Linked DNA regions of Homo sapiens: regions 1 and 3 are each linked to region 2. The links are contacts of gene promoters, found by promoter capture Hi-C in blood cells and fetal thymus (Javierre and others, 2016). All regions are on one chromosome and are shown on one strand. The core of a region is centred on a gene start or on the middle of the fragment in contact, and the rest is flanking DNA. Distances in the headings are between cores, read along the strand shown.

What was found. Contacts are between HindIII fragments. The CHiCAGO score rates a contact against its expected background, and 5 or more counts as called.
Region 1: a contact is called between a fragment that was not itself captured here and the fragment with the promoter of PRLHR in region 2, in 1 of 17 cell types (naive CD4 T cells). The highest score is 5.4, in naive CD4 T cells.
Region 3: a fragment that was not itself captured here is called in contact with the fragment with the promoter of PRLHR in region 2 in 1 of 17 cell types (M1 macrophages); the score reaches 5.2 in M1 macrophages.

The regions. Positions count from the first base shown.
Region 1 is chr10:118,732,087-118,736,113 of GRCh38, forward strand. All of the region lies in intron 1 of CACUL1 (CDK2 associated cullin domain 1), which reads right to left. Among named protein-coding and RNA genes, the nearest start is that of CACUL1, 21 kb to the right of the region's middle. The HindIII fragment of the contact is 1,503 bases long and covers 1,617-3,119 here.
Region 2 is chr10:118,593,499-118,597,026 of GRCh38, forward strand. It overlaps PRLHR (prolactin releasing hormone receptor), which reads right to left and starts at 2,150. Exons shown (of 2, transcript NM_004248.3): 1 at 2,018-2,150; 2 at 1-1,752. The coding sequence starts at 1,746. The coding sequence ends at 634. RefSeq lists enhancers at 1,109-1,917, 1,918-2,726, 2,727-3,528. The HindIII fragment of the contact is 5,195 bases long and covers 1-3,347 here.
Region 3 is chr10:118,836,515-118,840,370 of GRCh38, forward strand. All of the region lies in intron 3 of LINC03036 (long intergenic non-protein coding RNA 3036), which reads right to left. Among named protein-coding and RNA genes, the nearest start is that of CACUL1, 83 kb to the left of the region's middle. The HindIII fragment of the contact is 161 bases long and covers 2,051-2,211 here.

The DNA of each region.
Region 1 (4,027 bases), core at 1,118-3,617, 140 kb after region 2:
TCTGGAGGGTTTTGAGCAGAGGAGTGACATGATCTGGCTTAGGTTTTATATGGATCATTCCAGCAGCTGTGCTGAGGGTAAACTAAGTTTGGAGGCTGTGAGCTGATATGGGGTTGGGCCAGATGGTGGCACTGAGGACAATAAGGAGAGATCAGATTTTGAAGATATTTTAAAAACAGAGTCAACAAGATTTGCTGATAGATTAGATGTGAGATGTGAAAGAAAGGTCGAGTGGCTCCAAAGTTTTTGGCTTCAGCACCGAAGGATGGGGTTGTCGTTTACTAAAATGAGGAAGACTGCACGAAAAGCTTAGCTGTCCAGCGGGCATAGCAGATACTGTTGGTGCCCCACCCATTTACCCCATCCACACCCTACGACTACTTCTCTCAATGTTCTGTCCAGCTGCCAGAGCTTGCTCTGCTTGCGGGAGGAGCAGGTAAGAAATTGTGGGAGAATTAACCCCAAAGCAGCCTTCAACCAATGACTACTGAGGATTCAGTGTCATTACCACCAGTAGCTCCCTCTCCTTTTGGGTGAGGCGACTCTAAGGCCCCTGTGCTATACTGACTCCCAGAGCTCCCCACTGGTACTAAGCTCCAGCTGCCTACAGTGGTGACTTTACCTTACTGGCTTCCTTACCTTCCCTGCCTCACTTCCCCAATCCCCCTAGAGCTGCTTCCCAGGGTCACCGTCTTGCTCTTGATACTGAAAAGTGTTACACACTAGGCTCTAGAATATGACCTTTGTATTTATGTAATCCTTAGGATTCAAAGAAAACTGAAAAAGAAATTACATTCTCACTGTGTGATTCTGAGTTACAGAATCCCTTATCAGTGTACCACCTAAACCACATGAAATACCTCTCTACACCGAAAGTTGAGAGTTGAAGGTTAGATAACACGCTCAAAAAGAAAACTGCAAGTAGTAACACCAGTAATTAACATACCTATCTTCTGGGCTCCTAAAATGCTTAGTTCAATAAACCACATGCTATGGCTCCAGCTGGGAGCACTCCTACTTCTCAAGCACAGGCTTCGCACTTTAGCAAATCACCAAGTCAAAGATATGAAGAAGAGGAAAAAGAAACCAAAATGTAAAGTCCTGCAGTTCTAAGTACAGAATGGGGACTCACTACAGAAACAGTGACTGCTGATGCTTTTAAATATCTTTGAAAAGAGACTTAAAAACCAAATTGAAAAAGGCATGTGTCACAGTAGAGAATCTTAAACCCTATTTCCACACACAAAAAAAAAAGCAGTTTCTATTTCCACACGTATTATTTATTATATACAATATACATCTATGTTACCTGAATAGTAAATAGAAAGCCAATTCAGTAACCTTATATGCTAGCTAACATAACTTTCTTCCCAGGAAGGTTCTTCATAACCATCTGCAGTCAACACTTAAAATGACAATCCAGGAAACTTCAAGATATTTGTTATTTACTTGCTTATCTCAACGCAATCCTTGGTTTAAAAAACAAAAACTCCTAGCTATTTGTTCAGTTTAACATCTGACACATATAGCCTCAGAGTGTGTGTGTAATCTTGAACTTAAAAACTAGATCCTCTTGTTAAGAGATATGTAATCACTTTCAACTTTGCCCATAGAAAAGCTTACACTCACCAAAAGAAAAAGTAGGCCAGGCGCACTGGCTCATGCCTGTAATCCCAGCACTTTGGGAGACCGAGGCGAGAGCACCGCCTGAGCCCAGAAGTTCAAGACTACACTGGGAAACATGGTAAGACCTTACCTCTACAAAAACTTAAAAAAAAAAATTAGCCGAGCGTGGTGATGCACACCTGTGGTCTCAGCTACTCGGGAGGCTGAGGCAGGAGGATCTTTCAAGCCCAAAGGTCAAGGTTGCAGTGAGCCATGTTCATAACCCTGTACTCCAGTCTGGACAACAAAGCAAGACTGTCTCAAAAACAAAACAAAACACAAAAGAGTAGCCAAAATTCATGCTATGTGTAGAAGATAGCTGATTTACTACTTTAAAATGAGAATGCTAAGATCAGAGCAGCATGACAGGATCTTAGGAGATCTGCAAGGCTGCCTATTTAGACAATACTTTTCAACTTTTTATTTCTTGATTTCTACAGTTCAGTATGAAGCCTGCATTAGAAAATACATAAGCAAAAGGAGGAAATAAAAATCACTCATAATTTCACCACCAGTATATTGCGGCTGTGCCAGTGTACTGTGCCAGTCTTTTCAATGTATATTATACGTGGCTAAAGAGTATATACAGACTTCCAATGAGGTAAAGAATTCCTTGAATTTTACTTTTTAGATAATTAACTAAATTCCTTTTCTGTATGTAATGAGCAATATCAGCAAGTAAGAGCCAAAATTAAAGTATGAAACCTAAACAAAAGTAAGTTACCATTAAATTACTAAACTTCATCTAGGTTAGATTTTCAGCTTGAAAATAATGAACTACTTTTTATGCTATTTAAAGAAGGCACTACAGGCACAAATACCTACAGGAGCCACGCTAATAACATACATAAGTAAAGCAGGCCTGGTGCAAGAATAAGAAAAGTGGTGAGGGCTTTATTGAACAGCAGAATGTGTGTTGCCCTCTAGAGGCACAGAGGTTCAAGAAATTTTAAAACACTTACTAAAAAAATGTAAAAACATCATGCCGCAAGGCTTAAACCTAGAAACACATATTTTTAAGATAATAAGCTCACACAGTCTAAATCCCACTGAGAAAGTAGTTTAACTGACCTTTACTAAGATAAAATGAAACAAAGTCTGAAACACATGGAATAGCTGGAATCTTCATTCAGGAAATATTATCAGGTTGCTGATAAACAGGAAACCATTAGAGGTCTATAATTCATACCAGGCAAGAATAAATATGTTCAACTCTCACACTTTTTTAATCCAAATAACTTGACATATTATTTGTTTATTGTCAATCTCCCTCAAACTAGACGTTAAGCCCCATGGAGAAGGAATTCACTGCTAGAGCCCCAACTCTAAACAGTATATGACACATGGTAGGTACCCAGTAACATCTGTAAAGCGAATTAACTTCGTGAGTCAAAATAAATGCTGAACAGAAAAACAGTGAAAGATATACTACTTATTAGCTGTTTTGCAATTAAAGCTTAAATTACATTTGATTTCACATAGGCTAAAGCAAACCAGGTTAGCCCTACTATATAATCCTTTTAAGGGTTTTTTTGTTTATAAGGGAAGAATAAATTCAGGAATTATAGTAAGCATTATGAATTCATACTTGGTCTACTGCAGAGACTGATCATTACTTTCTATCAGTGCCTCAAAAGTGTGAGATCCAGAGCAGCAGCAGCAGCATCACCTGGAAACTTGTTGCAAATGCAAACTGTCAGGCCCCAACACAGACCTGCTGAATCAGAAATTCTAGGGGTGGGTGGAACCCAGGAAGCTGTTTAACAAGCCCTCCAGATAATTCTTACGCCTGTTAAAGTTTGAAAACCACTCTAATGCTTCAGCAGCCCTGGACAGCCAGGGTTCACTTAGGTGTTCCTCTTTCCTCAATTGCTAATATATGGCTTGTCTGTTCTCAACACCTTGGAGAGTCAAATAAAGGTGTGAATATATCAAACAAAATGTTAAAAAGGTAGCTAGGAACTGTCTTCCTACCAAAGATTCACTAAAATTCTTCTCTTCCATATCCCTTCTTCCCACCAAAAAAGCCACCTTCATTTAGAATAGACTCTTTAAGAATGTAGTAATGGCAATTATAAAATAAATAATTAAGCCAAATTTAAAAGGCTAAATTATGAATGACTTTTTAATTAATTGCAACTAGATAATCAGAACAGACAAGGAGAAAAGAGCCCTTTGTTACCTGTTTAACTCGAGCTAGTTAATGTATGCTATCTAAAAGAAAAATGATGACTTTTTGTCACTAGAGTATGCTCATCTGTGAATAACAATCTAATAAATCTGCCTGAATGTTCCAGCAAAATGTTCTGCTCCCTCCAGCACAGGGGGACGACTGAACTCTTCCAAGTGTTGGACTCAGAGC
Region 2 (3,528 bases), core at 900-3,399:
CCTTTCTAAAGGGAGCTTGTAGGTGTTTTTGTACTATAAACTCAAGTGGTTTTAAAACGAAACCCTTTTGGCATATAAAGGTCTTACTCAGGAAATGCTGAAATCCTAGATGTAGAGTTTTAATACATATTTACCTGAAATTCTAGGAATGCAAGGGTTCAAATGGACTAAGCAATATCATGGTACTCTCAGCTGGGTCCTTTTTCTAAAGGCAAACTGAAAATCTTTACCAAGCCCAATGCATTCCTTTTAAATCCCATTCATATTGTTCATTTCACCAACGAGCAGGAGGAGGGGACGCCAGGAAGGCAATCGTGGTTCTGAAATACTTTTCTGAACGTGGAGAAAAAGTTTTGTTTGTCCTTCAAGGGCATAAAGAAGAAATAAGAAATCCTCTTCCCTCTCTTTGGCCTCCCCCAAGCAAAGAGCAAGACTCTCACCAAAGCCCGCTTAACATTTTACAAACACACAAGGACAAGACAGACAGCCGGACAAGAGGGCTGGGCTGGAAATGTTGCCCTATGTTGGCTTAGCTAGCTCTGGTGCTGAGAATAAGCACCAGATTGACCTCGAGTGGTGCCCTAGGAGGCCAGTTGAAGTGGAGCTCCTTGACCAAGGCCTGGCTAAGTGGCATCAGATGACCACGCTGACGGTCATATTCTGGCCATGGGGGGCTATCTTGCGGGGCCAAGCGACCAACAGTTTGCGCAGCTCCTCGCGGAAGCTGTCGTGCAGCCAGGCGTAGATGAAGGGGTTGTAGCAGGCCGAACTCATGGCGAGCCAGTGGCAGAGCAGCTGCACCAGCCCAAAGGCGTAAGGGTCGATGGCGTGGGGGTCGAGGTCCCGCAGCAGGTTGAAGACGTGCAGCGGCAGCCAGCAGACGGCGAACACCACCACGATCACCACCAGCAAGCAGAAGGTGCGCCGGCGCCGAGCGCGGTCCCAGTCGGCCTGGCTCTGGGTCACGCAGCCCGGCACCACGCGGTTGCGGAGCTTCACTGACACCCGGACGTAAGACAGGAGGATGACCAGCAGAGGGAGCAGGTAGGTGACCAGCAGCAGCCCCCAGGCGTAGAGCTGGCGCTGGCGCTCCTGGGAGCCCCAGAACTCCTCGCAGAGGCGCACGTCGTGCGGCTTGAGCTCCACGTGATAGGTGTGCACGGCGGCGGGCAGCGCCAGCACCGCGGACAGCGCCCAGATGGCCAGCACAGCGTAGGCGCTGAGGCGCAGCGAGATGCGCCGCCTCAGCGGGTGCACCAGCACGACGTAGCGGTCCACTGCGATGGTGGTGAGCGTGAACACCGACACATAGACGGTGACCGGCTGCAGGAAGAAGACCAGGTGGCACAGGCCGCCGCCGAACACCCAGCCGCGTGGCTCGAAGGCATAGGCCAGCGTGAGCGGCACGCAGGCGGTGCACATGAGCACGTCGGACAAGGCCAGGTTGCCGATGAGGAAGTTCGTCACGTTGTGCAGCCGGCGCACCCGCGCGATCACCAGCACCAGCAGGCAGTTGCCCACCAGCCCCACGACCACCACGACGCTGTAGAGCAGCACGATCAGCCCCTTCAGCTGATGCACCAGCTGCAGGCTCTGGAAGGGCGTGACGGCTGGAGCGTCCGCGCCAGCCACCGACCCGTTGCCCGCCGAGGCCTCTGCGCTCTGGTTGGCGGGAGTTGTGACCGCCGGCGGCAGCCCAGAAAATAAGTCAGAAACCCTGGGGCCCCGAGTGGTCGATGAGGCCATGGCCACCTGTTCAAAGGTAATCAAAGTCCGTCACTTCCCTTGCCATACTCCATCCGACCTCCTACACCAGCCGCGCCCCTCCCCCATCGCCTGAGTCCTCCCTTGGGAATAACCGGCCACAGAACAACAGCAAAAGTAGCAAAAAGTGTTGTCCTCTCACCTCTGTAAAATAAACCTAAGCACGGTTAGAACATACGGTTTATTTAAACGCTTCCGCCTCTATTTACGGTCCTCGCAGTCCACGCAGGCAGACTCAGGAGCGCGATCCTACCTGGGAGTGGGGTTTGGAGAGCGGGAAAGCACTCGCGGGAAGAAGGGGCAGAATTTCTGCTGGCCCTCGGTAGTCCTCTGCCCACGTCGGTGATCCGGTCTCGCTTCTCCGCGGGAGCTGAACGGATCCAAATGTTTCCCAGTGGGCTAGCAGCTTCTTAGAGGGACTGGGAGCGCCTCCCCTCAGCTCCGCCCCCCACTCCAGCTCCCATGTATGGAAAATAGGGGTGGAGCGCGCTCTGCCATGCTCGGTGCTTAGAGAACTAGTGAAGAGGACAGTGTGGGGAGGATGGAATCCGAAACGGGAGGAGGGGCCGGCAAACCTGGCCAGAGCAGCGAAGAGGACGAATCTCTACTGCAGGAGCTTGCACGGCCCCTGGAGGGTCAGGGTCCGGAGGAGCGCACAGTGGAGGAGGGCGGAGGAGAGGCGCGAAGCGTCAGGCTATCGGGAGGAGCCGGTGCAGTCTTAGGAGGGAAGGAGCGGGGAAGGAAGTAGCGGTGGGAGATTGCAATGCAGCTGGGGGCTTGAGAGAGGCACGACTGACCCGTTCTTAAAGGCTGGATCCTGCCTAGCGGCCAGGTTGCGGAGGGCAGAGACGCTAGAGGGCTCGGGCTGGGATTTAACAGCAGAGCCTGGAGCTGGTCGCGGACCTGAGGACCCTCACCCTCCCGTGGCCCCGCCACACGAGCCCCCTGCTTGGCTGCAGCGCGCTCAGCGGGCAGCGGGTCCGGCCAAGCCAAAGGCAGGAGTCAGCACCACGGACAGCTTCCGCTGGATCTGCCGCCCCTCGGGCGGATGATGTGGGGAGGAGCAGGGGAAAATGACTAGGGAATTCCTGCCCCTCTCTGGATCCGGGTGTTTGGGGAAGGAACCTGGTCCGGTTCAAAGACCTGCCTCGCTGCCTGCTTTCTGGGCTGGGGCTGAGAAGAGTAGGGTGGAGTGGAGGCAGCTGAGCCGGGGGCCTGGGGGTCGGAGACTCATGACTTTTGCTCCTCTTGGTGGTCACCGCACTCAGTGCCAAGGACGGCGTCGTCTTTTACCTCCCGGGGTCAGAAAATGCAGCTCTCCTGCCAGTTATTCTACACAGGCACACTTCAGTCTGGCCCAGCGACTCCCCGGCTCACCCTTTCTCTCGCTTTCTTTCTCGGCTACCGCGACCTGTGCCGTATCTGGCTGCTTCTCCCAGCACAGAGTAGTTCCTGGACTGAGACTTGACCCCTCCCTCCTTGACTGAACACCCACAGGCCTCTTCTCTTCATTTTAGGATTTTTTAAAAATACTGGTAATTGCAGATTTCAGCTAGGGTAACAAAAGTAACAAACATTTGAGAAGCTTAGGCGTTTCATAAAATCTTCAGTAGTATTAAGTCCTCATTGAAATGCAAATTAGCCTGGCCCACGGGGCAAGAGCCAGGGGAGGAGGGGCCTTTGTAAGCTCCCTCCTTAGAAGCTATCTCATTCCCTCAGCCTCTTGTTTCCTTTTTCCAGAGCATGGAGCTTCATTGTCTCCTC
Region 3 (3,856 bases), core at 881-3,380, 240 kb after region 2:
AGCTATTTTAATGAAAATAACTACTTCATTGGAGTTTTTGAGGAATCGAATGTGCTAAAATTTGTAAGATCTGAATTACTTCTTCTGTCCAATCAGAATATTAAAGATCAAAACGTTTGCTTACGGACATGTGTTTGACCAAGATGGAGTAGTCAGGGCTGCAGTATATGCCTGGGAAGAAACTACCCAAGGCCACAGAGAGAATTTCTCAAAGCAGAGCCAGAAATAGTGCCTATTCCCACCAGCCCGACTGGAAAACTTCATAATTCATGGGCATTGACTATTCAGAAAAGTCTGGCCTCAGTAGTGGGGAATAATTAATGCCAGCCTGAGCCCTGCCTACCAAATCGTAAAAGCAAAACCCAAAGGGGTCAAACTGTAAAGGTCAAGAATTTGAAGATATCCAACACCCAACAAGGTAAAGTTCACACCATCTGACATCCAATCAAAAATTACAAGGCATGCAAAGAAGAGGAAAAATAGAACCCTAATGAGAAAAATCAAGCAATCAAAACCCAGAAATGACACAGATGTCAGAAATAGCACACAAGGACATTAAAACAATTATAATTGTATTCCATATGTTCAAAAAGTTACATATGGAATATATTTTTTAAATGACCAAAATTAAACTTCTAGAGATTAAAACTACAACATCTCAGAACAAAAGCAACACTGGATGTGATTAGTAGATTAGACATTGCAGAAGATTAATGAATTTGAAAACACAGCAATAGAAATTATCCAAAATGAAATAGGTTTTTTAAAAAGGGATTTTAAAAACTTTAAGAGCATCAGTGATCTCTGGAACAACTTCAAGCAACCTATAGCAATAATACACATATAATTGGAATCCCAGAAGAAAGTAAAGGCTATGAACAGGAAAATATTTGTTTGATTCAGCAGATATAGGGCAGGGCCCAAGAACTTAAGTTTCCAGGTGATGCTGAAAAACTGCTCCAAGGTAGGAGTTGACAAACTACAGCTTATGGGCCAAATCCAACTCGCCACCTGTTTTTGTAAAGTTTTATTGGAACGCAATCACTGTGTTAGTCCATTCTTGCATTGCTATAAAGAAATACCTGCGACTGGGTAATTTATAAACAAAAGAGGTTTAATGTGCTCACGGTTGTGCAGGCAATACAGGAAGTATGGCTGGGAGGCCTCAGGAAACTTACAATCATGGCAGAAGATGAAGGGGAAGCAGGCACAACCTACATGGCTGGAGCAGGAGGAAGAAAGAGAGAAGGGGGAGGTGCTACACACTTTTAAACAACCAGATCTCATGATAACTCACTATCATGAGAATGGTACCAAAGGGGAAATCCAACCCCATGATCCAATCATCTCCCACCAGGCTCCACCTCCAACACTGGAAATTACAATTTGACATGAGATTTGAGCAGGGACACAGATCCAAACCGTATTGGTTACATTGCTTTACATGTTCTTTTTTTTTTTTTTTTTTTTTTGAGATGGCGTCTCACTCTGTTGCCCAGGCTGAAGTACAGTGGCATGATCTCAGCTCACTGCAACCTCTGCCTCCTAGGTTCAAGCGATTCTCATGCCTCAGCCTCCCGAGTAGCTGGGATTACAGGCACCCGCCACAACGCCTGGCTAATTTTTGTATTTTTAGTAGAGATGGGGTTTTACCATGTTGACCAGGCTGGTCTTGAACTCCTGACCTCAAGTAATGTGCCTGCCTCAGCCTCCCAAAGTGCTGGGATTACAGGCGTGAGCCACTGTGCCTGGCCAATTTACATGTTCTCCATAGCTATGGTGCTACAACAGCAGAGTTGAGTTGTTTCAACAGAGACCATGTGGCCTATAAAGCCTAAAATATTTCCTATCTGATCCTTTACAAAAAAGGTTTGTTGATCCCTGCTTTAGGGGATATACAGGAAGAAGTGTGATCCCTGCCTTCATGGAGTTAGCCTTGTAGGGAAGACAAGTAATGACACACACATACAAACACAAGTAAGAATTACATTTGTGTTACGTGCTGTGAATAAGTACCAGTAAAACCAGTACAATCAGGGAGGCTGAGCAAAGCTTCCTTGAGGAAATGATATTGATGCTGAGGCTTGAAAGAGGAACGGAATTGACCAGGCGAACCTTGCAGGAAGAGCTGACCAAGCACCAGAGTTATGTGTGTGAAGGTCCCTTTCTTAGTCAACTCAGGCTGCTATAACAAATTACCATAGACTCGGAAGCTTATAAACAACAAATTTATTTCTCACAGTTCTGGAAGCTGGAAGTTGGAGATCAGGATGCCAGCATAGTTGGGTTTTGGTGAGCGCCCTCTTCTTGGTTATAGAATTCCAACTTTTCATTCTCCCACGGTGAAAAGAGGGTGAGCTAGCTCTCTGGTTTTTTCTTATAAAGCCACTAATACTAATCCCACCCATAAGGGATCTATCTACCCTCATCACCTGATTACCACCCAAAGGCTCCTTCTCCAAATACCATCACATTGGGGATTGAGTCTCAATGTATGAATCTGAGGGGGACAAACGTTCAGTGCATAACAGCCCCCAAAGCTGGAAGGAGATCAGCAGGGTGAGCAAGGGGTAGGGGTGGATAGCACGAAGCCTGGGGAGGAGGAAGGGATGGGGCCAGGCCCTCCCACCAGGTGAGGAGGTAGGTCTGTATCCTAAGAGGACCGGGTTAGCCACTAAAATCCTTAAGCATAGACTACATAATTACACTGGCATTTTGAGGCAATTGGTTTGTTGATTGTGTAGACAGTGTGGAGAGTAGATTGGACAAGGACAGAGTGGAAATGGGTGGACGAGTTTGGAAGTCCCTCCAGGTGAGAAGTGATGGTGACTCAGACTTAGGAGGGCAGGGGAGAGAGAAAACTGGACCATTTCCAAATGCAGGCTTAGATTAGGTTCCGTGTGGACTCAGGGGGGACCTGGGAGAAGAGGGGCTCTGGGGGTGGGGCAGAGGTCATGGCCAGGAGGAAAGGAGTCTTTACAGGTCACTTCCCTAATTTGCCATGCCTCCTGCCTGTCCATCACAACCAGCTGATCCACCCTGTGCCAGCGAGCAGAGGCTCAGTCCCTGGGTCAGGCCCAGCTGGGGTGACCAACCATCCCATCTGCCCAGGATTGAGGGGTGTTCTGAGAGCCTTCAGCTAAATTGGGGTTCCAGTACCAGCACAGCTGGCAACCCTGCCCTAATGAGAAATGAAGAGGAGGTGAACATGTTGTTTACAGGACGCCTTTCACACGATCCTTCTACTTGTCGGATGGCCTAATGTCTGGTTATCCAACCTTCAAATGGAGGGTGCCTGGCATAGGAAATGTGTTTATGCTGGTAGACGATCTTGTGTCTTGTCTGACCTGTGTCCAGTTTGTGTCTACCTGACCGTCACTCTGGCCCTCCTGGAAGCCCAACCTTGTGTTTCTCACCACTCCCATGTCCCAGGGAAAACCCAGTGGGGTAGCCCCCAGTTCTTCAGATGGAAGGCGCAAGTTCGATACACGACCATGACAGGAAGTCAGTTCAAATATTTTTACTTACAGATCCGGGGCAGGGAAGGCACCATGGGTAAGGAGGGCAGTCCACTGTCCGTGGGTCATGGAATGCAGGAACAAAGAGTCAAGCAGAGGGAAAGAGACAGAGAGATACAGAGACAGAGAGAGACAGAGAGGCAAAGAGTAGTATATAAGGGAATAGGAAGTGAGTCACCTTAAGTTCATGGGCAGCTGTCTGAATGGCCCGTTTAAAGGAAGCAGCAGGAAGGCGGGGGCGGGGGAGCCCATCTGGTGGGCGGGAGAGAGGCCTCTAAGTTCTCACCTGGAGCCGCGGCTTGAGTCATTTGGGTGTGGAGCTGGAAACTGTCTCAAGA